Regions from separate parts of the Homo sapiens genome. Here regions 2, 3 and 4 are each linked to region 1. The links are contacts of gene promoters, found by promoter capture Hi-C in human tissues and cell types (Jung and others, 2019). All regions are on one chromosome and are shown on one strand. The core of a region is centred on a gene start or on the middle of the fragment in contact, and the rest is flanking DNA. Distances in the headings are between cores, read along the strand shown.

Evidence for each region. Contacts are between HindIII fragments. The study calls those that stand out against the background at their distance.
Region 2: a contact is called between a fragment that was not itself captured here and the fragment with the promoter of PDXK in region 1, in 1 of the 25 tissues and cell types used here (dorsolateral prefrontal cortex).
Region 3: a contact is called between a fragment that was not itself captured here and the fragment with the promoter of PDXK in region 1, in 3 of the 25 tissues and cell types used here (dorsolateral prefrontal cortex, liver and lymphoblastoid cells).
Region 4: a fragment that was not itself captured here is called in contact with the fragment with the promoter of PDXK in region 1 in 1 of the 25 tissues and cell types used here (spleen).

Annotation. Positions count from the first base shown.
Region 1 is chr21:43,717,737-43,720,760 of GRCh38, forward strand. PDXK (pyridoxal kinase) reads left to right here and starts at 1,393. Exons shown (of 11, transcript NM_003681.5): 1 at 1,393-1,645. The coding sequence starts at 1,559. LOC124905032 (a long non-coding RNA gene) reads right to left here and starts at 812. Exons shown (of 2, transcript XR_007067896.1): 1 at 479-812. RefSeq lists enhancers at 695-744, 2,086-2,995 and silencers at 895-1,684, 1,725-2,034, 2,192-2,381. The HindIII fragment of the contact is 22,908 bases long and covers 1-3,024 here.
Region 2 is chr21:44,331,206-44,334,211 of GRCh38, forward strand. CFAP410 (cilia and flagella associated protein 410) reads right to left here. Exons shown (of 7, transcript NM_004928.3): 4 at 1,828-2,057; 5 at 638-809. Among named protein-coding and RNA genes, the nearest start is that of CFAP410, 6.7 kb to the right of the region's middle. RefSeq lists enhancers at 163-664, 665-1,164. The HindIII fragment of the contact is 7,900 bases long and covers 1-3,006 here.
Region 3 is chr21:43,197,609-43,200,389 of GRCh38, forward strand. No RefSeq gene overlaps it. Among named protein-coding and RNA genes, the nearest start is that of CRYAA, 30 kb to the left of the region's middle. The HindIII fragment of the contact is 5,641 bases long and covers 1-2,781 here.
Region 4 is chr21:42,994,052-42,997,105 of GRCh38, forward strand. The region is part of intron 1 of PKNOX1 (PBX/knotted 1 homeobox 1); the gene reads left to right. Among named protein-coding and RNA genes, the nearest start is that of PKNOX1, 21 kb to the left of the region's middle. The HindIII fragment of the contact is 8,048 bases long and covers 1-3,054 here.

The DNA.
Region 1 (3,024 bases), core at 143-2,642:
TTTTTTGAGACAGAGTCTCTCACTGTCACCCGGGCTGGAGGGCAATGGCGCGATCTTGGCTCACTGCAACCTCCACCTCCTGGGTTCATGCAATTCTCCTGCCTCAGCCTCCCAAGTAGCTGGGATTACAGGTGCACACCACCACACCCAGCTAAATTTTTGTATTTTTAGTAGAGATGGGGTTTCATTATGTTGGCCAGACTGGTCTTGAACTCCTGACCTCTTGATCCGCTCAACTCAGCCTCCCAAAGTGCTGGGATTATAGGCGTGAGCCACCGCGCCCGGCCAATGTTAGCTATTATTAATGGACAATTATGACTAATTATGAAGTACTTTCTTTTAAAAGCCTAGATCTCTAAGTAATGTCTTCCTCCCTCAGTCCTCAGCACCCGCCTGGTCGGGCATTGGGTCTCACCAAGCTACAGAGCCCTAGGTGCGCTGTGTTAGGTCACCAAGACTTTAGTCTGGTGATACTGACCCCAGGGCCCCAAATCACCATGTCTGCAAGTCTGGAACCCAAAGGCCTCCGTTCCCCGGGGTGGTGCAGGGAAGCCGCAGGGAGTGCGTCAGCTGTGGAGAGCGTAGGGGTGGGAAGTGAAGGCTGTGGGGTCCCCCAGGGGGTCAGGTTCGTCCTCGAAGGCAGGCCCTCCACAGGAAGACCTGGTTGGGGTGGGATCGGACACGCGGCCCAGACCCAGGCACCTGTGGATGGACGGCCGGGCATGTGGCCATCGGCTGGGGGCCTCTGCAGGCCGCGCCACCAGAGTGGGCACTCAGGGTCCGCAAGGGTCTGGGGCGCCCCCAGAGAAGCCCGCCGCCCCAGGCCGGTGCGGAGTTGACTGGGTCCCCCCGGCCCCGTGTCTGTCAGCTCCCGCGCGGCCCCTGGGAAGGGACGCGGATCGGATGCGGGCTCCGGGCCCTGCAGGCAGTTGAGAGCGCGGTTCCCTTGGGTATCCGGGGTCCGGGGTCACTTTCGCGCCTCCGCACTATTCCCACGCCCGCGCGCACTCTCGTGGCCATCCGCGTTGCGAGAGTGTCGCGCCCGGAGGTCAGGGGCGTGGAGCCCGGGCCCCCGAGTCTCCCCTGCGTGCGGCGGGGCGCGGGGCGCGGGGCGCGGGGCGCAGGGCTGAGGCGGAGCACAATGGTTGAATGAATGAATGAACGAACGAATGAACGGCGCTGCAGAGCCCTCTCCAGGCGGAATGAAAGTGCAAACCCAGCGTTTCGGGCGGCAGAGTGGCGGGGGCCACCTGGCGCGGCCGCGCGGCCAGGGTCCGGTTTCGCTTCCTCCCAGCCCGGGGGCGGGGCCTGCGTGGCTGTCCCCGCCCCGGTCCGCCCCCGGCCAGCCCCCGGCGCCGCGCGGAACTCGCGGGTTCGGAGCCGCCCGCTGAGGTCAGAAGGAGGCGTCTGCGCTGATCGGGTCCGCCGCGCGCCAGAGCCAGAGTCGCAGCCGAGGGGAGCCGGGGCCGGAGCCCGAGCCCGAGCCGAGCCGGAGCCCGAGCGAGCGGCGGAGACCGTGCCCCCGCCTCGGCCCCGCGCCGCCGCGGCCAGGCCCGGCATGGAGGAGGAGTGCCGGGTGCTCTCCATACAGAGCCACGTCATCCGCGGCTACGTGGGCAACCGGGCGGCCACGTTCCCGCTGCAGGTACGCATCCGCCCGCAGCCCGGGCTTACGTAACCCGAGCCCGTGACCTTGGCGGGGCTGCCCGAGACGAGCCTCAGTTCCCCGAGGGAGGCTCGGGAGCTGCGGGCAGAGCCTGGCGCGGGCGCCCTGGAGGCAGGCGCGGGATGAGCCTCCCGCTCTGCTTGGCTTGCGGGGGCGGAAGCGGAGGGCTGAGCGCTCTGCGGGCCCCTGCGGGTGGGACGGGTCCGGCGTCGGGGTACGCGGGTAGGAGGGAGCCCTGTGCACCAGCTATGGCGCAGCCGCTCGTCCTCGCCCCTTCCCGCCGACCGGGCCAACTGCCGCGGGGGCGGGCGGGCGGTGCGGCTCCCGGAGGCGAGGAAATGTCGCAGAGCCCCGAGGAGTCCCGGAGCAGTCACGCGAGCCGGGACCTTGCCCCGCTGGAACGCAGAAGCGGCCGTGGAGCTCGAGACGCTCGCGCGCTCACCTCCTGGGCCCCTGTGCGTGGGGAAGTCAGGAAGAAGACGCCGAGTGAGGTCACGGTGCCCACGAGGGTGGATTCCCCTCGGCCTGACCACGCCAGGAGGTGGCCGAAGGGAAGAGGGTGGGGCAGGGGCTGCTCTGCACCCTCTAGCAGAGCGGCATCCCTGCAGGTGTTTGCTCTGACGAGGAGAAGCCCCAGAGAGCAGTTCGGGACTGTGCGGATTGGCTTTAGGGAGCCAGCTTTTAAAACGCGTTGGCCCACGGCCTCCTGGTTGCAGCTAAGTGGCCCGTGGAGGGGTAGGAGAGGCCTGGGTGCAGTGGCGTGGGTGTCACGCAGGGCCGAGGCAGAACCAGGACGACGGGCACTTCCTGGCCTTGTCGAGTCAGCAGGAGGGCTGGGGGTGCCCTGCCGGGTCGTGCTCTCCTGTGCTGCCCACCTGCGGCCTGGTCACTGGGGACGGGAGCAGGTATGCCTGGTCCCTGTGCTGGGCCCCACGGGATGTAAAGAAGGGCCACCTGGGCACGGCGGGGCCTGCGGTGCGGGCTGGCCTGGGAGGAGGACAGGAAGAGGGGAGCAGAGCTTCAGTGGAATTTGAGGGCTGACCTAGGCGTGCCCCCAGGAGGACCAAGCTGAGCAGAGTTGAGCGTGGAAAGGCAGGGGGTTCGAGTCCGAAGTAAGTGGAGGTCCTGTTGGGAAGGATGCGGTGCTTCACAGGTGGTCTTACTTGAGACCCTGTTCCATCCAGCTGCAGGCAGACCCTGCCTGGGACAGTCAGGGTGCACCGGTTCTGTGGCTCCGGCTCTTAAGCACTGCTCTGGACCACTCCTAGCTTGAGGGGGTTGGGGGAGGTCACCACAGGCTGGCGGATTGCTTGGGCAGAGTCAGAGGTAGGATTGGGCTTGGGAAGAAAGGTGCAGGG
Region 2 (3,006 bases), core at 325-2,824, 610 kb after region 1:
ACCCGAACACACAAATGCCGGGGGAGAGCTCCTGACCATGGGGTCAGGCCCTGTGCCGGATGGCAGATGCCTAACAGAGATCACATCCCGATGCCCCCACCACAGGCACCAGCAGCGGGTGTGATCTGCCAAGCAGGAGAGAAGTGCCCAGCTTCTGTCAAATGCGTTCGTGACCCGCTGCCAACTGCCCTGGGAGGCGCCGGCGTCTCACTGCAGAGTCAGCCCTGTGGCCCCTCCACGGCCCCCAGGCCCAAGGCCATACGGGCACTGATGGCCGTGCCCACAAACCATTCCAGTCACTGTGGCCCTAGGCCACCCCCCCCACCAGGGGCTCCCTGCACCTCACGAGCTCTGGTGCTGTGAGCCTTCTCTGTGCCAGGGCACGGGGCCTGGCTCACCCCCTCTCCTGCTCCCTGGCACATCCGCTGTTGGGCAAAACATGGACCTGCCACTGAAATCACTACCTGGGCACTGAGTCACTCCCAGAGAATATGGATGAGAACAGACACTCCCCCCGGATAATCCCTGTCCCTCACTTCCCAGAGACGCAGCTCACGGGAAGCCCCATTCACTCCCCGTGGGAGGACCCTGGGGGACAGGGATGGGCTGCGGAGTCCCCGCTGCCCTCCAGCCTCACGTTGCCTCCTCCTCGCTGTCCAGCGGGTCCCGGCCAGTCTCAGCAGCGGAGCTGAGGGAGCTCAGTGTGCAGCATAGCTTGGGGCCGCCGTGGCCTGTGCCCTCTCTCTCTGGGGCCGCAGTGATCTCCTCTCCCTCACTCAGTGCACGGGACAGCTCCTCCTCCGTCACAGCTTTGGGATGAAAGACAGAAGACAGCATGAGTGGCCTCACCCACGTGCAGGCCACATGCACTGCAGCTCCCGTCCTCACTGTGGCTTCAGGCACAGTCTGCTTGTGAAATGCATGCACGTGTATCCACCTCCAGGGACAACTCCCAGAGTAGCAGCCGGTTCCTCACTGTCCCATCCCCAGCCTGGCACAGGCTGACACACAACAGATGGTGGAGGGCTGCTCAGGAATCTCAACACCAGCCTTGGCCAGAAGCAAATACTCCTCAAAACCTCAACTAAGACACAATAGAAAAAGGAACAGACCATATTGAATTTATTCCATTTCTCTCATATATCAATTTCCCTGAAGTTTATATTATTAATATCAATAAAATTGTCTGGGAGAAAATAGTGGTGTCTGTATACCTGACAAGGATGAGACACTAGTGTGCTGAGAATGCCAAGGATGAACAAACAGCATGAAACCACAGCCTGGAAAACTGTGTCGGTGCTGGCGCTGGCTAGAGGAGGCACGAGTGCCTCCAATAGGTGGAGCGCAGCAGCAGGCACTGCGGTGCTGGGACGGCCCCTCCCCACGGCAGGGGCGCGATGGCACCGCCACCCTAGGTTCACAGTGGCCCGTGGAGCCTGCCCAGTCCCTGTGGACCAGTGCGATGCTGCTTGCCAGATACTGACGCCCCCGCTCGCCATGGCGCATGGCGATGGTCAGAGCAGGGCTGCTACTCACAGAAGCAAAAGAAGGAACCCTTTTGCTTTGCTACCAGGTCCTGCGGTCGTTGGGGGATACCCAAACTGTCAGTCCCAGGAGGGACCCTACGCTGCGCTGCTGCATTCGGGTGGCGGGATCAAGAGGAGACACAGAAGCCAGGGGAACAGCCTCTGGAGGAGACTTCACAGGACACATCTATGTCCCGCCAGACCAGGTATTTGCAGAAAAGGAGAAGAGAAAAGAGGGCTGGGGACATCCCCTTCCAGGGATTGTTTTGGGAGGGCCGGTGACTCCGCTGCGGCCACCTACCCTGGTTGTCCAGCTTCTGTAGGCGCGGCAGGGTGCGCAGCACGGTCATGCGGTAGCGGTGGGGGCTGGTGCCGCAGCACGGGTTCTCGGCCAGCCACAGCACCCGCAGACGCGGCAGCCCCTTCAGGTAGAAGAGCTCAGCCAGGCTGGGGATGCGGTTCCTCCGCAGGTACAGCTCACTCAGGCGCTGGCACCGGCTCACAGGCTCCAGGGTGGAGATGCTGTTGACACTGCACGGAGACCAGCACAGTCAGCGAGGGACGTGGCCAGGGCCCCCAGGGCCACCTCTCAATCCCCACCCCCAGTAAAAGGCACTCATGGGACCTGTGTCCCTGCCCTCTCCTGAGAAGCCTAAATCGGATGTCACAAGTCACGTGCAGCAGGACCTGGGCCGAGGAGAGAGCTGTAGGAAGGCCAGGCCCTGAACTCAAAGGCGGACTGGGGTGGACCCCACCAGCAACAGCCCCTTGGCCCGACGCTCCACATCAGCTCCTCAGGGCGCTAGAGTGCGGGAGGTGGGGGATGTGGCCCTCCTTCACAGGTGAGGAAAATTAAGGCCTCTCAGGGGACATATCATGTTGCCCCAAAGCAGGGAGCGGCCAGAAAAACTCATGGCAAAAACTAGGAGCCAGCTCCACGTGACATGGGAGTGAGCACGGACCTTCCAAACCCCCACTTGAGGGCGGCAACACTGGGGATGGGCCTCATTTCCATTCTACAGAACGTGGACGCGTCAGAGAAGAGAAACAGCAGGCCTGGAGCGGGGACCTGCAGGCTTTACCCTGCAGCGTGGGGTCCGTCCCCTCCACAAGCGAACACGCGGAGCCGCTCCCGCAGGCCCTCAAAGGCGCGGAGCCAGGGCCCCCTGCCTGGAGGGCTGCACTCGCGTCCGGCAGGCGCCTCAGAAGGGCGGTCACCAGGCCCCCATGGGCAGCCTGCCGTCCTGAGCCCCCCTCCCCATGCCATCCCTTCACTCGGGGTTTCCCAGGTCTCATGCAGCTCCTAGCTATGAGGCCGCCCCATTTTACCAAGAGCAAAACTCCGGCTGTGGGACTCTTTCCAGGATGGGGTCTGCCTCAGGCACAGGCAGCAGCGTGATGTACCGACCGCGTCCGCGGCCTCGAGGCTTCCTGCTCCGCTCCAGTGCAGTCAGGCGTGCAGGCACCACGCACCTGAGCT
Region 3 (2,781 bases), core at 134-2,633, 520 kb before region 1:
AAGTGAATAAAGAACAGTGAGGTGTTAAGCTGAACAATTCCTAGAACTCACACCAGGCTGCAAGAAATTTGAACTCCTTCTATTCAGTTGGAGACCTCATAGAGCACTTGGGGCAATCAATAGACAATACACGGCTCACGCCTGTAATCCCAGCACTTTGGGAGGCTGAGATGGGCGGATCACCCGATGTCAGGAGTTCGAGACCAGCGTGACCAACATGGAGAAACACCGTCTCTACTAAAGATACAAAAAATTAGCTGGGCGTAGTGGCGCATGCCTGTAATCCCAGCTCCTCGGGAGACTGAGGCAGCAGAATCACTTGAACCTGGGAAGCGGAGGTTGCAGTGAGGTGAGATCGCGCCACTGCACTCCAGCCTGGGCAACAAGAGTGAAACTCCGTCTCAAAAAAAAAAAGAAAAAAAAATAGAGAATACAAAGGATCAAGCTTTAGTAGTAGGAATAAATTAACTCTAGAGTATAGGCAACTCTAGATAACCCCAAAAAAATGTAAAAGCAAGCCTCAAAAAGATCAACCTCATCTGCAAGTAACTTTATTACTTGCCAGAACAAATGTCAACACTATTTATAAAGGAAAAAAAAATCTATACGTTTATCAATGTTATATTCAAAATGCCTGTCACCCAATAAAATATGGTGAGATATGTGAAGCAAAGATTGTGATCCATAACTAGGAGAAAATATCAGTCCATCAAATCAGGCCCAGGAATGATGGGAATGATAGAATTAGTAGATAAAAGAATTTTAAATGGCTATTATAAATATGCTCAAGCATGTAACAGAAAACATGAATGCAAACGGAAGAGAAAAGGAAGGTATTGAAAAAAAAATGGGATGTCTAGAAATGAAAAATAATTTTTCAACTGAAAAGTTCACTAGAGGGGATCAACAGCAGATTAAAAACTGCAGAAAAAAAGATCAGTAAGCTTGAAGACAGGGCAATAAAACCTGTCAAAACAGAAGTATATAGAGGAAAAAGACTGGAAAAAATGAACAGAGCCTCAGGAATGTTGTCTAACATGCTTGTAATTGGAATTCAAGAACAAAAGAAGGGTGAGAGAGAGTAGCGAGAAAATGCATTAGGAAAAATAATGGCCCCCAAAGTTGTCAAATTTGATAAAAAGTGTAAACCCACAGGTCCAAAAAGTAAAACAAATCTCAAACAGCGTAAACACTAATAAAAGTATATCAAGGTATATCATAATCAAGTTGCTGAAAACCTATGATAAAAAGAAAATTTTAAGAGTGTCTAGAGGAGGAGAATCCTTACATTTTAGGGGAACAACAATAAGGTGACTGCAAACTTCTCTTTAGAAAAACGCAAGCTGGAAGGCAGTGGAATGACATCTTTAAAATACTCAGAGAAAAAGAATCTATTAACCAAAAATTTTATATTTAGCAAACATATCTTTCCAAAATGAAGGTGAAATACTTTTTCAGATACACACAAAAAATTAATATTTTTACTAGTGTGCCTATTCATCAATAAATATAAAAAGAACTTCTTTTAAGGTAAAAACGGAATCCTGGAAAACCCAATCTGAAATAAGCCAGGAAAGGAAAAATAAAAGAACAAAGAAGATGAATCAAATAGAAAACAAATATCAAGTTGGTAGACTTGAACCCAACTATGTTAATAATTATATCAAATGTAAATGGTTTAAACATTCTAATTAAAATGCAGAAACTGTCAGGCTAGATTAAAAAAGCAAGACCCAATTATATGCTAACTACAGGAAATTAGCTTTAAATACAAAGACAGAGAAATAAAAGTGGAAGGAGGAAAATGATACACCATGCAAACAGTAATCACAAGAGAGCTGGAGTGGCTAACACAGTAGACTGTAGGAAAGGAATAATATTACCAGAGATAAAGAGGGACATTTCATGATGATGAAAAAGCAAATTAATTCACCAAGAAGAAATAACAACCCTCAATTTGTATATTCCCAATAATAAACCTTCAAAATACACAAAGAAAATAATAATAGAACTGAAAAGAGAAATAGAAATCTATACTTAGAGATTTCAAAACTTCTCTCTCAATTATTAATAGTGGACAGAAAATTCATAAGAATATGGAAGACTTGAACATGCTATCAACCAACTTGATCTAATTGACATTTGTGTAGAATTCCAACTAACAAAAGCAAAATACGTATTGTTTGCAGGTGCGTATAGAATTTACCAAAGTAGATAATATTTTGACTATCAAACAATTCTCAAAGTTAAAAAGATTTAAATCAGGCAGAATATATTCTCTGACCACAGGGAATTAAACTTCCACAGTATTTCAGAAGCTAAGAGCTATACCATTTACCTGTCTATCTACTTTAAGGAACAGTGATAATTAATGTTCATAAAAATGAATTGAGGTGCTGAAAAAATCCTTATAAGGCATAAGACATGCCTTATATGTATGTCTTCAGAAAATTAAATGTAAAATAGGTATAATGTTAATATTTTATGAAATGTGCAAATGTACTCAAAATTGAGAGAGTAGTTCAAAGAAACCCATCCATATACCCGCCACTCAAATTTCACAATTATCAAGAATATAGGATATTTGCTTCACCAATTCAGTTGTTTATTTTCTCTATGCGGAAAAATTTTGAAGCAGACCTCCAATACTATACGATTTTACTGCTGCATATTATAGTTTGCCTCTGTAAAAACTGGATATTTTCTCGAGTGATCCCAATTCCATGGTCACACTTACTGTAAGTCATAGTAATTTTTTGTGATCATAAGATCTTGGAGCTG
Region 4 (3,054 bases), core at 129-2,628, 720 kb before region 1:
TTAAGGCAAGGCGGGGTCTCCCTTTGTCGCCCAGGCTGGAGTACAGTGGTATGATCACGGCTCACTGCAGCCTCGACCTCCCGGACTCAAGTGATCCCCCTGCCTCAGCCTCTCAAGCAGCTGGGACTACAGACATGTGCCATCATGCCCAGCTAAATTTTTGGATTTTTAGTAGAGATAAGGTCTCACTTTGTTGCCCAGGCTGGTCTTGAACTCCTGAGCTCAAACGATCCTTCCACCTCAGCCTCCCAAAGTGCTGGGATTACAGGCGTGAGCCACTGCACCCAGCCAATTTTTGTATTTTTAGTAGAGGCGGGGTTTCACCATGTTGGCCAGACTGGTCTTGAACTCCTGGCCTCAAGTGATCCACCCACATTGGCTTCCCAAAATGCTAGTATTACAGGCACGTGCCACTGTACCTGACTGTTTTAACCAGTTTTGTTAGAGAGAAGGACTACCAATCTATACATTTTGAAATTCTGACTTTTCCCTCATATTATGAACATTTTGAAAGACAATCTGAGAGTAGAATCTTGATTATCTGCTACCTAGATTCAACAGTTATTGTTATCTGGACCCAATTTATTTATGTTTATATTTTTATTGATCCATTTGAAAGTAAGTTTTGGATATCATGGTCATACAACTAAACATTGAGCACGTACTTCTCAAAATGGTGATATTTATGCTGTGAGCTTATAGCTTTATCACACCATCAAAATAACACTCAATCTCTAATAGTATATAATACTATATATTCACATCTCCTCAAATTTCCTTAAGTTGTCTTTTACAGTGTTTGTTTTTGAAACCAAGATCACATACCACATTTGGTTGTTGTTTCTTTTCTTTTCTTTTTCTTTCTTCTTTTTTTTTTTTTTTTTTTTTAAGACAGAGTCTTGCTCTGTCGCCCAGGCTGGAGTGCAGTGGCGCAATCTTGACTTACTGCAGCCTCCGCCTCCTGGGTTCAAGCGATTTTTCTGCTTCAGCCTCCCCAGTAGCTGGGATTACAGGTGCCTGCCACCATATCCAGCTGATTTTTGTATTTTTAGTAGAGACGGGGTTTTACCATCTTGGCCAGGCTGGTCTCGAACTCCTGACCTCAGGTAGTCCACCTGCCTAAGCCTCCCAAAGTGCTGGGATTACAGGTGTGAACCACCACACCTGGCCGTTTACTTTTATTTTTGCCAGTTTCTTTATAGAGTGCCTCTCAGTTTGGGTTCCTGGGTGTGTCCTGAGGATTGGACTCACAGCTTGCATTTTAGGAAGGACTGCACAGAAGCCAGTAGAGTGTATCCTTTTCATTGCATCATTGTTTTCCCTTTGTAATTAATAAGTGTCTTGAGCCTGGTGCTGTGGCACATGCCTGTAATCCCAGCGCTTTGGGAGGCGGAGGTAGGAGGACGGCTTGAGCCCAAGAGTTCAAGACCAGCCTGGGCAACAGAGTGAGACCCCTGTCTACAAAAAAATGCAAAAATTAGCCAGGTATGGTGGCATGTGCCTATAGTTCTAGCTACTCAAGAGACTGAAGTGTGAGGATTGCTTTAACCTGGGAGGTTGAGGCTGCAGTGAGCCAGAGTCTTGCCACTGCATTCCAGCCTGGGAATAGAGCAAGAACCCATCTCAAAAAAATAAAAAATGAAATGTATCTTGTGGCAGGTACTTTGAGATTATGTACATTTCCTGTTTCTCATACTTTCACAAACTAGTGTTAGCATCCATCGATGATTCCTGTCTGAAACGGCTTACTGTGGTGGTTGCCGAATGGTGATGTTTGAAAGCTGTCGTCATCCTCTACACGTTAGAGAACTCTTGTATTTTAGAGCTTTTTCTGCTCCCCATCTATTCATTTATGTATTTATATTTTTAAAGAAAAACTTATTCTGACCCTTATTAAAGTTAGCAAGGCACTTAGTGCTTTGGGAGGCAAGGCAGGACGATAGCTTGAGGCCAGGAGCTTGAGACCAGCCTGGGCAACAAAGTGAAACCTCATGTCTACAGAAATTTTTAAAAATTAGCCAAGTGTGGTGGTGTGAGCCTGTAGTCCTAGCTCCGTGGGAGGCTGAGGCAGGAGGATCACTTGAGTCCAGGGGTTCGAGGCTGCATGATTGCACCACTGTACTCCAGCCTAGGTGACAGAGCAAGACCTTGTCTCAGAAAAGCAAGACAAAGGGCAGGCTGTTCAGGATGATCATGATAGGTATAGGGACTGCTGCAATGGGATTGTGTAGTGGGGGAGACCTAGGAGCAGGAGTGGGGGCCATGGACGGAAAATTTAACTAAGAGGAAACATCAGGGTGCAGGGGGTTCTGGCTGAACTGACCTAACAGGATTCTTGTGGAAGGCCGCTAGCATCACTCCTCTGGACCATAAACACTCGGGGAGTCCCAATCTCTCCTGAGCAGTGCATTGGCGCCAGCTTTCCAGATGTGTGTGTAAGTCCATCATCCTTTAAGAAGTTTGCTTAGAAAGCCTAGATGCTGAGACTTAAAAATGGAGTCTCACCATGGACAGTTCTCATAAAGAATTGTCTCCCAACAAAGTGGCTGACTGTGTTGTGGCTGTATTGTTACAGACCTTCTCAGATGTGTTTGCTGCAAGTTTTGTTTATTTGGAACTCTTTGGAAGCTAGCACAACTACATAGAAACCCATATAAGTTAGCCACCATGCTCAGCTAATTTTTAAAAAAATTTGTTGTAGAGATGGGGTCTCGTTCTGTTGCCCAGGCTGGTCTTGAACTCCTGGGCTCAAGTGATCCTTCCACCTTGGCCTCCCAAAGTGCTGGGATTACAGGTGTGAGCCTCTGTACTCAGCTAATTTAGCTAGTTTTTGTATTTGATTTTTTTTTTTTTAATAGAGTCTCTGTCATCCCGGCTGGAGTGCAGTGGCACGATCTCGGCTCACTGCAACCTTTGCCTCCCAGGTTCAAGTGATTTTCTTGCCTCAGCCTCCCAAGTAGCTGGGACTATAGGCATGTGCCACCATGCCCAGCTCATTTTTGTATTTTTAGTAGAGATGGGGTTTCGCTATTTTGGTCAGGCTGGTTTCGAATT